Linked DNA regions of Homo sapiens: region 1 is linked to region 2. The links are contacts of gene promoters, found by promoter capture Hi-C in blood cells and fetal thymus (Javierre and others, 2016). All regions are on one chromosome and are shown on one strand. The core of a region is centred on a gene start or on the middle of the fragment in contact, and the rest is flanking DNA. Distances in the headings are between cores, read along the strand shown. Region 1 overlaps TAF12 (TATA-box binding protein associated factor 12). Region 2 holds the start of SESN2 (sestrin 2).

Region 1 (6,663 bases), core at 2,343-4,842, 350 kb after region 2:
AGTGATCCACCTGCCTTGGCCTCCCAGAGTGCTGAGATTACAGGCTTGAGCCACTGCGCCCGGTCACCTGGGTCTGTTTTTATTCATCATTGTATCCCTCTGCTTAGGACAGGCATGGGATTATAAATACTTGCTGAGTGAATGAACAAGTCCCTCAATATGCAGATAGGACAAGACTGAGATAGATGACGCCACTTACTTGTCACACTGCAAATCAAGAACTGGGGTCTTTTGATTCTACCTCAGCTCTTTCCATTAAACTTCCCCGATTCCTGTGTTCCCTTCTGTCTTAGTGGAGATCTCAAAACTAATTCTAGATTCCTTGGCTGCCAAGGTCAGTGACTCATCGTACTACTGAAACCCAGCTGGAGGCCCCTTGGTGTTTGGTATCACCAACAGAATATCCTTTATGAGTGTCACCACTGGCATCAGGAGGTTCTGGGGAAAGTGAAACCCTTCAGCATCCTCGTCCTGATGGTTGGCCACAAGAGTGACCTGTTGGTGAGCACTGGGTGACACCACAGGGAAAGAAGCTGGCTGCCTCTTTGGGGCATTGAAACTTCAGCCAAGAGCAACAGTAACATTAGCACAGCCTCTGAGGAGCTCACTCAGTGTATCTGTGAGACTGTGAAGTGGGGGGGACATGGGATCTAACTCAGGGTGGGAGGGAATTTTGAAATGCAGGGTCTCATCCTGGGCCAAGCTTCAGGACGCAGAGGACCAAAGCAAATCAAGGTGGCTGTGCCTGTGCTAGTGACCCTTGGGTAGGACAGCCATCCTCCCTAGAGCCCACAGAACTCTCACAATCCACAAGGGCCATGCTGGGCCCAGGACAGGATGATGCTAGGTGCCACTGAAGGACATGACCCAGAGGTCTGGAAGGCGCCTGGTTTCTTCTGCATGATGGTGAAAACACCAGGATCAAAGATAACAGCAACTAAGAAGAGATGGGCACCTGCACAGACATGCCTATCCTGAGGACAGGGGCCTACTCCCATCCTTTCTCAGGGACAGGGACAAACACAGCTTTCTCCAGGAGTTCCAGAAGAGCAGGTCAAAAAGGGTTTTTAGGCCGGGCGCGGTGGCTCACGCTTGTAATCTCAGCACTTTGGGAGTGCGAGACCTGTCTGACCAACACAGTGAAAACCCCATCTCCACTAAAAATACAAAAATTATCTCGGTGTGGCGGCAGGCGCCTGTAACCCCAGTTACTTGGGAATCTGAGGCAGGAGAATCGCTTAAACCTGGGAGGCTGAGGTGGCAGTGAGCCAAGATCACATCACTGCACTCTAGCCTGGGTGACAGAGCTAGACTCCGTCTCAAAAAAAAAAAAATTAAAAAAAAACAAAAAAAACCAAAAAGGGTTTTTAGGCATATAACATTGCCAAAACAAGGATGCCTCTTCAGTTGAGGGCCGTGAGAGAAGGTCACCCTACTCAATTCTTATGGCCGAGAAGCTGGACTCAAACTCCTGCTGATGTTATGGCCTCCCTTGGGGTAAAATGATGGAAAATCCCTGAGTTTTTCTCAAACACCAAAATGAATAACGATGCTGCCACCTGCTGACTAGAGAGCTACAATCCAGGCTTGCTTGTCCTGACTCCCTCTGGGATTTCAAAGGTACCCTGTCTTTCGATTAATAACTTCTTTATTCTGGAAAAGCAAATGAAAGTCATATTCATATAAACACTGACATTACAAAGTACAGGGAAAAGGGGAAGGGAGAAGGAAACAAAACCCTTTACAAATCCTGCTAATACTGTCTTACCCAAAAAGACCATAATGCTTTGTCCCATATTCAGTCACTTATATAATAAACCACAAATAAAATCTTCTCTGGAAGATACATTGCTCCTCTTTGAGATGGCAGGGAAAAGGGACCGGAAGTTGGGGTAGGAGGCTTTATTCTTTTGGCAGATCCTCTCAGTCATTATAGATATTGCTGCACTGTTAATAAAAAATATATGCTTCTCTGTAAAGCATTAAAAAAAAAAATCCAAGGATGAGATGGCTGAGTTCTCAGCTCAAGTATCTCCAAATACATTGCTGTCCATTCCCTGACCTTTCCGTGTGTTATTTCTTGGTTGTTTTCCGGATCAATGCCATTCTCTGAAAGGAGAGACAAATAAGCAGTTATACAGCAGCAGCTGGAGTCAGGAGCTTTCTGGAACATTCTGTGTGGCTAGCAGGCCTCATGGTCTACACTGTAGGCCGCAGCCCTCAGAGACCTGCAGTCACAAGGCATCTCAGTAGATTCCTTTTAACCAGAGAGCAGTCTGCAAGGCCCCAAGAGATGTTTAGATGGGCTAGTGGACCCATTTCATCCACCAAACTGCTCTAGGCTAGCAGAATGGCAAAAAAGTTAAAAGCAGGAGAAAGTGACAGCTCTTGAGTTTTGGTGACTTAGAGAATAAGCTGGCAAAGCATGTGTTTTCTTTCTTTCTTTTTTTTTTTTTTGAGATGGAATCTCGCTCTGTTGCCCAGGCTGGAGTGCAGTGGCATGATTTCGGCTCACTGCAACCTCTGCCTCCCAAGTTCAAGTGATTCTCCTGCCTCAGCCTCCCCAGTAGCTGGGATTACAGGCACGTGCCACCACGCCTGGCTAATTTTTGTATTTTTAGTAGAGACAGGGTTTCACTACATTGGCCGGGCTGGTGTCAAACTCCTAACCTCAAGTGATCCACCAGGCTCGGCCTCCCAAAGTGCTAGGATTACAGGCATGAGCCACTGCGCCTGGCCAAGCATGTGTTTTCTGGGGTCCCCTGACCCCAATCTTTTCTCCAATGATGGACACAATAGGGAAGGGGCCTCAATTTCAAAGTGTTGCCACACACAAAGGGAGCTGACATTTCACATCTCATGACCTGCATTGAAGGGAAACTGAAGACTAACAACTTCTACCACAGTCCATCATGGAAACACTCAGATCATAGGTTTCATGATCTGAATTCTTTTACTATTACTAGCTACTAGCCAAATTAACAACTTACTTTGTTCATTCTTTTTGACCAAATACCAATATTATGGCATTTGTCGACTAAATAAATAGGGCTGAAAATGGTTAACTTGGGAGCACAAAGTGACAGTCCATTGTTTGCAGGGACTCTCTTCTGAACAGTGCAATCTTTCCATTCAGGAAACTGGTGGCTTCCCTTTAGGGCTTGCTTCGTGAGCTTTACAAACACCGGCTCCAGAGATACCAGGCTATGGCGAAGCAGGGGCACTCAACCAGGACTGCCCAGTTGTGCCTGCTAAGCTTGGAAAAAGCTCACGTTTCAAATCAGAGTAGCCACTTAAGTTAAGACAGAAAGGATAACAGCCTTGTCAGAGGGAGGCCAACACTGCTGTTGGACTGACCAAAGATGGGGATGACTTGCTCCACAGCAGAAGTAGTATTCTCACACTGACTCCTAGGTTCCTTGTTCAGAGGGAACCTTGTTCAAAGGTAAAACCAGGACACAGGCCAGAATGTCCAGCACGGCAGCCTGGATACTACCTCTCAGAACAAGTACAGCACATTTTTGCTTTCTTTAACCTGCCCTCTCTTCATAGGACCATATATGGTGTTGCAATCAGCAACAATGAAGGAAGATTTCATTAAGGAGGTATGGTGGGGCGAGCTGCATCCATATTAGAAGAACCCAGAATCAACAGCTTTAAGTGACACTCAACAGAGTTACGAGAAAAAACAGACCACATGTGGGAACAGCACAGCACCATGTGAATATCTTATTGATCTCCCGGAGACCGCTGCTGCCTCTTGCCCTCTCTGACCCTTGCTCCAGAGAGTGAAGTTTGCTGTGTGGAGGAAGCGAGGCCCCCTAGAAGGTAGCTGTGTGTATCCACTCTGAGACGTAACTCAAGGAATCAGCCCTGGCTGTCCCCAGGGCTCTGGCATTTCCTCACCTGTTTGTGAGCTTCTGTGGTGCAAGCTTTTTTGTAGGGTCGGATTTCTTCAGAGCCAAATCCTGGGATCCACATGTTCCACTGGCGCTCTGCAAGGAAGAAGCCAGCACAGAGATAAACGTACCAAGAAGGCAGTACCAGGAGTGCAATGTGACCCCCTTGGATCAGGGAGGATGAATGTGGGCATCTGGCTACTAACTCCACAAAGGGATTCTATTACAAATAGGGAAAATGGACATGGCTTCTCCAAGGTTTTTTCTTTTTTTTTGGAGACAGGGTCTTCCCACTCTGTCACCCAGAGTGGGGTGCAGTGGCACAATCTTGGCTCACTACAGCCTTGACTACCCCAGCACAAGCGATATTCCCATCCTGGCCTCCCAAGTAGCTGGGACTACAGGCGCATGCCACCATGGCCAGCTAATATTTCTTATTTCTTATATTTCTTTAAGACGGAATTTTGCTCCTGTTGCCCAGGCTGGAGTGCAATGGCGCAATCTCGACTCACTGCAATCTCTCAGGCTTCAACATTGAATATGCCACAGGCTCATTTGCCAGGTTCAAGCAATTCTCCTGCCTCAGCCTCCTGAGTAGCTGGGATTACAGGTGTGTGCCACCATGCCTGGCTTTTTTATTTTTTATTTTTTGGAGATGGAGTCTCACTCTGTTGCCCAAGTTGGAGTGCAGTGGTGCGATCTCGGCTCACTGAAACCTCTGCCACCTGGGTTCAAGCGATTCTCCTGCCTCAGACTCCCGAGTAGCTGGGATTCCAGGCATCTGCCACTGCATCTGGCTAATTTTTGTATTTTTAGTAGAGATGGGGTTTCACCATCTCGGTCAGGCTGGTCTTGAACTCCTGACCTCGTGATCCACCCACCTCGAACTCCCAAAGTTCTAGGATTACAGGCGTGAGACATCGCACCTGGCCTCAGCTAATTTTTTGTATTTTTAGTAGAAACGGGGTTTCACCATGTTAGCCAGGCTGGTCTCAACCTCTTGACCTCAGGTGATCTGCCTGCCTCAGCCTCCCGAAGTGCTGGGATTACAGGCGTGAGCCACTGCGCCTGGCTGTATATTTCTATTTTTTGTAGAGAGGGGGTCTTGTTATGTTGAACTTTTGGGCTCAAGCACATCCTCCTGCCTCAGCCTCCCGAAGTGTTGGTATTACAGGCATCAGTCACCATGCCTGGCTTCCTCCAAGGTTTCTAAAGGACAAAATTCAAGCTTCTTGCAAAGAAAAAGAGGTAATTTAGTCAAAGCTGTGAATGCTGAGACCTAAGGTTTCCATGCAGCTTATCCAATTCACAGAAAATAAATATCATTTATTTCTTTAGTTGTCTTAATCCTAAGGCTCAAAGTAACCCCTCTCACACCTAAGGGACATGAAGGCACTTCAAGCATTCTGGAATTAAGAGCCAAAGCTGAGGTCTGCTGCTTCACTGAGCAGCTGTATGACGCTGGCTCCCAGTTTCTTCATTTTTTATGTAGCTGTAACAACAGTAATAACCACTGACAGGGTGGTTGGGGCATTCAATGACATAAGGCATGTGAAGTATTCAGCCCAGAGCCTAGGGTAAACATATAGGTATGGATATAGAGAGAAGTATGTCCACACCACAGTTCCATGACCTGGTGCCCCTGGATATTATCTTCCTTATAAGGTTATCACAAGAAGTTCCCAGAGGACAGGGACTTTGTTTATTCCTCTTTGACAGTAACTGGCATAGGGGCATGGCCCCCTAAACTCATGTATAAAGGTGTACGTCACTTTTAGCAAATCACAGGCATAAGCCACAACACCTGGCCCAATATTTCTTTGAAAACAGAATGTCTGAAACCTTCTGCTAACAATTTATGTTATTAGTATTTGAAAGTGACACTGGCCAGATGTGGTGGCTCATTCCTGTAATCTCAGCACTTTGGGAGGCCAAGACGGGAAGACTGCTTGAGCCCAGGAGTTCAAGACCAGTGTAGGCATAATAGTGAGACTGCATTGTTACTAGAAATAAAAATATTAGCTGGGCGGGAGTGGTGGGTCACGCCTGTAATCCCAGCACTTCGGGAGGCCAAAGTGGGCGGATCACCTGAAGTCAGGAGCTCAAGACCAGTCTGGCCAACATGGTGAAACCTGGTGTCTACTAAAAATATAAAAAATTAGTCAGGCATGGTGGCAGGTGCCTATAATCCCAGCTACTTGGGAGGCTGAGGCAGGAGAATCACTTGAACCTGGGAGGCAGAGGTTGCAGTGAGCTGAGACGGCACCACTGCACTCTAGCCTAGGTGACAGAGCGAGACTCCATCTCAAAAAGAAAACTTTTTTTTTTAGCTGTATGTGGTGGTGTGCACCTGTAGTCCCAACTACTTGGGAGTCTAAGGCAGGAGGATCACTTGAGCCCAGGAGGTAGAAGATGCAGTGAGCCATAATCACACCACTGCACTGCAGCCTGGGTGAAGAGGAAGATCCTGCCTCAAAAGAAAACAAAAAGGGCCAGGCACGATGATTCACACCTGTAATCCCACCACTTTGGGAGGCTGAGGCGGATGGATCACTTGAGGCCAAGAGTTCAAGATCAGCCTGGACAACATGGTGAAACCTCCTATCTACTAAAAATACAAAAATTAGCCAAGAGTGATGGTGAGTGCCTATAATCCCAGCTACAAGGCACAAGAATCCCTTGAACAGCCGGGCGTGATGGCTCATGCCTGTAATCCGAGCACTTTGGGAGACCAAGGCTGGTGGATCACAAAGTCAGGAGATCA
Region 2 (6,621 bases), core at 1,998-4,497:
CTCCCCAGATGCTGGGATTACAGATGTTAGCCACCAAGCCTGGCCAATTTTACCTTTCTGAGCTCAAGTTTTCTCACTTTGTACACGTGGTCAATGAGAGATTTTTATCATCAGTTGGAGGGAAGTGGTGAGATATATACACATGATATCAAGCATACACCAAGTTTGGAGATCAGTGGTAGAAAGAGATAAAAAGAATGTGTTGAAGATGTTGAGGACTGGGTGAGATTACTTTCAGCTGAGCTTTTTGGAGGAGGTGTCATTTAAAGTCTTGCTTCAGGCCACAAACAGGAATGAAGGCATTGAATGATGGATACTATTTCAATGGGTAGAGATTTGCAAGAAGAGTACTGAAAGAAAGATTTGAAGGCCAAACAAGAAACATGGATGTTGCAGGTGGTAAGAATGGGAGGGTAAATTAGGTGCATCTTGGCAAACCTTGAATGTTAAGATAGGAGTTTGATTTTTTTTTTTTTTTTTTTTGAGACAGGGTTTCGCTCTGACACCCAGATCGTGCAGTGGCACGATCTCAGCTCACTGCAACCTCTGCCTCCCGGGTTCAAGCGATTCTCCTGCCTCAGCTTTTCGAGTAGTTGGGACTACAGGCGTGCACCACCACGCTTGGCTAATTTTTGTATATTTAGTAGAGATGGGGTTTCACGATGTTGGCCAGGATGATCTTGAACTCCTGACCTCAGGTGATCTGCCTGCCTTTGCCTCCCAAAGTGCTGGGATCACAGGCGTGAGCCACCATGCCCACCCAAGGAGTTTGATCTTAATTCTGTAGCTGATGAAATACCAGTGAAGCCTTTTGATCTGGACTTTGACATTACATAGTAAATTTTTTTTTTTTTTTGAGACAGAATCTCACTCTGTCACCCAGGCTAGAGTGCAGTGGCACGATCTCGGCTCACTGCAAGCTCTGCCTCCTGGGTTCACGCCATTCTCCTGCCTCAGCCTCCCAAGTAGCTGGGACTACAGGCACCCGCCACCACGCCTGGCTAATTTTTTGTATTTTTAGTAGAGACGGGGTTTCACCATGTTAGCCAGGATGGTCTTGATCTGACCTCGTGATCCGCCCACCTCGGCCTCCCAAAGTGCTGGGATTACAGGCGTGAGCCACCACGCCTGGCCACATAGTAAATTTTTTAAATGAAAGCTGAAGCTGACACAGGGTAGTTTAGAGAGGAAGTTGATGCAAAGGAAGATTCCGTGACCAAGGGCATATGATTGTCAGGACATTTTGCTAGGTGACATAGAGCAGGAGATGGATGTCAAGATGTAGACCCTGCCAGCCAGGCGCGGTGGCTCATGCCTATAATGCCAGCACTTTGGGAGGCTGAGGCGGGCAGAGCACAAGGTCAGGAGTTCGAGACCAGCCTGATCAACATGGTGAAACCCTGTCTCCACTAAAAATACAAAAATTAGCCGGGTGTGGTGGCACTTGCCTGTAATCCCAGCTACTCAGGAGGCTGAGGCAGGAGAATTGCTTGAACCTGGGAGGCAGAGGTTGCAGTGAGCCAAGATCGGGCCACTGCACTCCAGCCTGGGAGACAGAGTGCGACTCTGTTTAAAAAAAAAAAAAAAAAAAAAAAAAAGATGTTGACCCTGCCCTCAAGGAGTTTACAATTAAAAAGATCAGATAAGCCAGACTCAGTGGTGCACACCTGTAACCCCAGTGATTGATTTGGGGGGCTGAGGAGGGAATATCGCTTGAGCCCAGGAATTTGAAGCTGCAGCGTGCTATGATCATGCCACTGTACTCCAGTCTGGGTGACAGAGCTAGACCCCATCTCTAAAAAACAATACTAATAAAAAGAAAAAAGGGTCAGATAAAACATGTACATAGAAAATTACAATACAAGGCAGAATGTGGCTGGACATGGTGGCTCATGCCTATAATCCTAGCACTTTGGGAGGCTGAGGTGAGAGAATCGCTTGAGCTCAGGAGTTTGAGACCAGCCTGGGCAACATATTGAGACCCTGTCTCTATTTACTAAAAAACAAAAAACAAAAACAAAAAAACAGAAAACAAAAAAACAAAAAACAAAAAAAACTAGGTAGAATGTGATACATGTGAAAAGAGATCCAGCTCAAGTGCCTTGGGAGCTCAGGGGAGGGTGAGATTAATCTCTTTTTCCCAAGAATCTGGAGGCAGGAAACCAAGTCGGTTTCATCTTTGGAATTGTAAGCTTAGACTTAGAAGTCTCAGAGGGGGACTTGGGGGTCTTATCCACCCTCACCCCTGGCAGGATTCCCTGTCTAGAATAAACAATAACTTTAAAATGGAAACAAAAAAAGGAGCTCTGAAGGAAAACTGTGAAGGAAGAGGCTCCGTTTGAAATGAATAGAAAATGAATTTAGCTTGGAGGTGCTGAGGTGTTGGTAGAGGCAACTTTCTGGCAAGAGGCGAGTTGAAGGCCAGGAAGTGAATGAGATCAGGGAGAGTGTCTGGAGGGAAGAGGGGCAAAAACAAACTGGGGAAGCACCCACGTTTTAGGAAGTGGGTGGTGAAAGAGGAGTCAGAGAAGGCCAGAGGGAGAGGTGAGCAAAGATCCAGCAGAACACCTTGTTACAAAGTTTCGAGGAGGGTGGGAGGGGTGGAAGCCAGGACGGGTAGCAGAAGGAAGAAAACTTCCAGCAATAGGGATTGAGGTTCCACACGAAGTTACCAATGACATTTCAAGGAATGAAGGCTTTTCCTGAGGCTCCACAAATAAGGTGAATTCCCTGTGTCTCGCATCTTTGGAGCTTCCCCGAGGCCAGGGGGAGCAGGGTTGTGCCCTCTGACCTCTAAATATCTGGGGTTCAGTTCTATAATTAGCAGCACCGGATAGGACGCGAGCCAAACCTCTCTTAACCCTAGCCAGTCCCTCCAGGAACTGAAAAGATGAAGAATTCATTTAGGAGATTTCACACTCGGCTGTTTGGCCTAGCCCAGTGAAGTCCCTTTTCATCACGCAACCCTAATGACTCTTAGGGCTGTCACTGCCGTCTGGTGTTGCCAGGGATCTGACTAAACCGTCTTGCAAAAGTTTGCAGCATTCACCCGAGGCGGACTACAACTCCCAGAATTCCGGGCGCTCCCCGGTGCTGATTGGCGGAGCCCGTGACTCCAGGGGGCGGAGTTTCCCCCGCCTCCCCGGGGAAACAGACCTCTGATTGGCTGGACCGCCGGGCTTTTGTGTCCCCGCCCTCCCCCGGGGACCGCAGCGGGCTGAACTGCTGGTGTCAGAGCCCGGCGAGCGCTGGCAGTTCCGCGGCGGGGATGCTGAGGAGCGCTGGGTCCGGGAGCAGCCCTGGCCCCTGCGGACTTCCGAGGCCGTGAAAACCCCTGCGCTGCGGCCCTTCCCAGGCCCCCGAGGCCGTTCGCCGTTCCCGAAGCCCGACTGGGGGAAGAGTCCAGCACCAAAGCGGCCGTTCTCGGATTCCGGAGCGTTCTGGAGCCCCGAGAGACGCCCCGGGGTTCTAGAAGCTCCCCGGCGGCGCCCAGTCCCGGCTTCATTCGGGCGTCCCTCCGAAACCCACTCGGGTGCACGGGTCGTCGGCGAGCCGCGACCGGGTCCTGGCGCGCACCATGATCGTGGCGGACTCCGAGTGCCGCGCAGAGCTCAAGGACTACCTGCGGTTCGCCCCGGGCGGCGTCGGCGACTCGGGCCCCGGAGAGGTAAGCGGCGGCCGCGCGACGCCCCTCTTCCCTGGAACCCCGAACCGCGTCTGAGCCTCAGGCTGTCCGGAGCTGAGTCGGTGTGTCCTGGGCTCGGGGAGGGAAAGCCGAGCGCGTAACCCGGGACCCGGGTTGCATCAACTGGCAGCCGCGGCCCTCGGCACCCCTCCCCCACTCTGTCTCCCCTCTCCCTCCTTCTCCCCCTCCCTCTCCCCCTCCTCCCTCCCTCTCCCCCTCTCCCTCACCGCCCCACCCCAGGGCCGCGGATCCTTCCTCGGCTCCCTCGGACTCCTGGCCAATGAGGGAGAAGCCTTCTGGAGGCTCTCCGAGCTTTGGGCTCCTGAGCGTCTTCAAGTCCAGGCAAATCCCGGCCGGAGCGGCCAGACCACTCCTCCTCCCCGCCCCCTTCCGCGGAGTCCCTTCCTCTTCGCGGGGGCCGGCGGGCAGAGGACCCTTCCTGGGGTGCCTCCCGGCTCCTGTCCCCCAGCGCGGGGCGTAGGCACCTGGGACTGGCCAGTGAAAGTCGACCTCATCCTATGTCCACCGCACTCCTGCTTTGGAGGGAGAGCGCAGGGGCTCTGGGGGCTTGGCGGGCCGCCCGGTACGCGGCGGCGGCAGCCAAAGCTGGGGGGAGAGGGGACAACCCTGGTCGCGGCTTCCGAAGCCAAGCGCGGGTTAGGCTGCGCCCTGCTAAGTAAGTGGTCTGAAGGCCCAGAAGTTTGTTTTCCAGAAATTCCTCCCCCACCCTCCCTTCGCGCCGCTCCCCTCCACCCCCCCGCATTCGCATCCCGGCATAGCCCGCAGGGGCTTTGCAGGGAGACCGGGAATTAGGCTGGACCTAACCAGACTGACAGTTCGCACTCCCCCACCACTACCAGCAGCAGCGATAATGGACATCTTATCATTTATTATGCACCTACTAGATACCAGGCTCTGAGTTTTTTTCGCCTTTAACCTAAGTCCTCAGGACTAAACCAGCAATACAAGCTACGCTATAGCCCCATTTTACAGGAAGAACATTGAGGCCCACGATGGGCTCAGAAAGAGGCTTTCTTCATTAACCCCACTGAATATCTTGTTCTTTGGCCTTATGATTTCGGAGATTGCACGGCACTAGGAGCTTCTAGTTGCTTTAGTTTACAGGCCTAGAGTGTGGTGGAAGTTGTATTCTGGACCTGGGATTTGGTGGAGTGCTATGACCCCAGGAAAATCCCTGCTTTTCTCTTAGTAACGTGGTTTCTGGGGATCCTACCTCCGTCGGTGTATAGTTTGTGCCCTGGTTTTTGTTAGCTTGCTTACCCTTCTCTGCCGTGATTTAGGAGCGCCATGTGGAGGAATGGCTCTTCTCCTGCAGCTTCTCAGCTGTGTGACTTCTTTGGAAAGATGGAAATAATGTTACTATTGAGAACACCTGAACACTAGAGAGCAAGAGTGCTGGGTTCATGTCCCAGCCCTCCTGCTAACTTGCAGTGTGTGGCTTAGCCAGTAATCACTTCTCTGATCTGTGGTTTCTTCCCATGGGGATTTTACAGTATCTCTAAGGGATTGTTGGGAGAATTAACTCAGAATACAAGCAAAAGCTGAAGCACTGTGACTGGAACATAGTAACTGCGTGATACTTGCTTGCTATTATCAGAACGTGGCCATGGCACGCACAGCTTTCTCCAGAGTGTCTCACAAGGGGGTGCCTGAGCCTGTTCCTGAGATCAGACACTGTACACCCCTCTCTGGGTCAGTGCCTGGTCTAGGGAGAAAAGGCTTTGAGGGAGGGATCTTTACACAGAAGCCATGTTTCCTCAGTGGAGAAAACTGCTGCTATCTGGGAGGTTTCTTTTTCTTATCTTTTTTTTTTTTTTTTTTTGAGATGGAGTCTTGCTCTGTTGCCCAGGCTGGAGTGCAGTGGCACGATCTCAGCTCACTGCAACCTCCATCTCCCAGGTTCAAGCAATTCTCCTGCCTCAGCCTCCCTAGTAGTTGGGATTACAGGCACCCGCCACCATGCCCAGCTAATTTTTGTATTTTCAGTAGAAACAGAGTTTCAGCATGTTGGCCAGGCTGATCTTGAACTCCTAACCTCAGGTGATCCACCTGCCTTGGCCTCCCAAAGTGCTGAGATTACCGGCATGAGCCACCGCACCTGGCCTATCTGGGAGATTTCTGTGTATTCCTCTCTCGAGAAAAGAGGACCTTCGGACGGTTTCTGCTTTGAGTGGTGGCATCCTTAGAAGACAGCAGGGTGCTGATCTTTGAGTCAGGTGCCCGAGGTCCAAGAGAAGACCCAGGCGTGCAGCTCCCTTAACTCCCTGTCACTTCACCACACACTCCCTTTCAGGAGCTCATTGCCTTCAGATGTGTGTATCTTCAGAAAGTTCCAAGGGCTTCACTCTAGTACTGGTAGTATTGGGCTCCCGAATAACTTTCTCGGCCAGATGCAGTGGCTCATGCCTGTAATACTAACACTTTGGGAGGCCGAGGCAGATGGATTGCTTGAGCCCAGGAGTTCAAAACCAGCCTGAAACCCTGTCTCTACAAAATATACAAAAGTTAGCCAGGCGTGGTGGTGTGCGCCAGCTACTTCGAAGGCTGAGGTGGGAGGATTGCTTGAGCCTGGGAGGCGGAGGTTGCAGTGAACTGTGATCATGCCACTGCACTCCAGCCTGGGTGACAGAGCAAGAGTCTGTCTCAAAAAAAAAAAAAAAAAAAAAACCAGGCTGGGCGCGGTGGCTCGCACCTGTAATCCAAGCACTTTGGGAGGCCGAGGTAGGTGGATCACAAGGTCAGGAGATTGAGACCATTCTGGCTAATACGGTGAAACCCCGTCTCTACTAAAAATACAAAAAATTAACCCTGCGTGGTGGCACACGCCTGTACTCCCAGCTACTCCGGAGGCTGAGGTAGGAGAATTGCTTGAACCTGGGAGGCAGAGGTTGCAGTGAGCCGAGATCGCTTCACTG

What was found. Contacts are between HindIII fragments. The CHiCAGO score rates a contact against its expected background, and 5 or more counts as called.
Region 1: a fragment that was not itself captured here is called in contact with the fragment with the promoter of SESN2 in region 2 in 1 of 17 cell types (endothelial precursors); the score reaches 5.6 in endothelial precursors.

Annotation. Positions count from the first base shown.
Region 1 is chr1:28,601,466-28,608,128 of GRCh38, forward strand. It overlaps TAF12 (TATA-box binding protein associated factor 12), which reads right to left. Exons shown (of 6, transcript NM_005644.4): 5 at 3,907-3,995; 6 at 1,385-2,109. The coding sequence ends at 2,074. Among named protein-coding and RNA genes, the nearest start is that of RAB42, 13 kb to the left of the region's middle. RefSeq lists an enhancer at 974-1,474. The HindIII fragment of the contact is 676 bases long and covers 3,255-3,930 here.
Region 2 is chr1:28,256,271-28,262,891 of GRCh38, forward strand. SESN2 (sestrin 2) reads left to right here and starts at 3,248. Exons shown (of 10, transcript NM_031459.5): 1 at 3,248-3,667. The coding sequence starts at 3,578. RefSeq lists enhancers at 2,819-2,998, 2,991-3,839 and silencers at 3,109-3,318, 4,099-4,158. The HindIII fragment of the contact is 7,816 bases long and covers 2,191-6,621 here.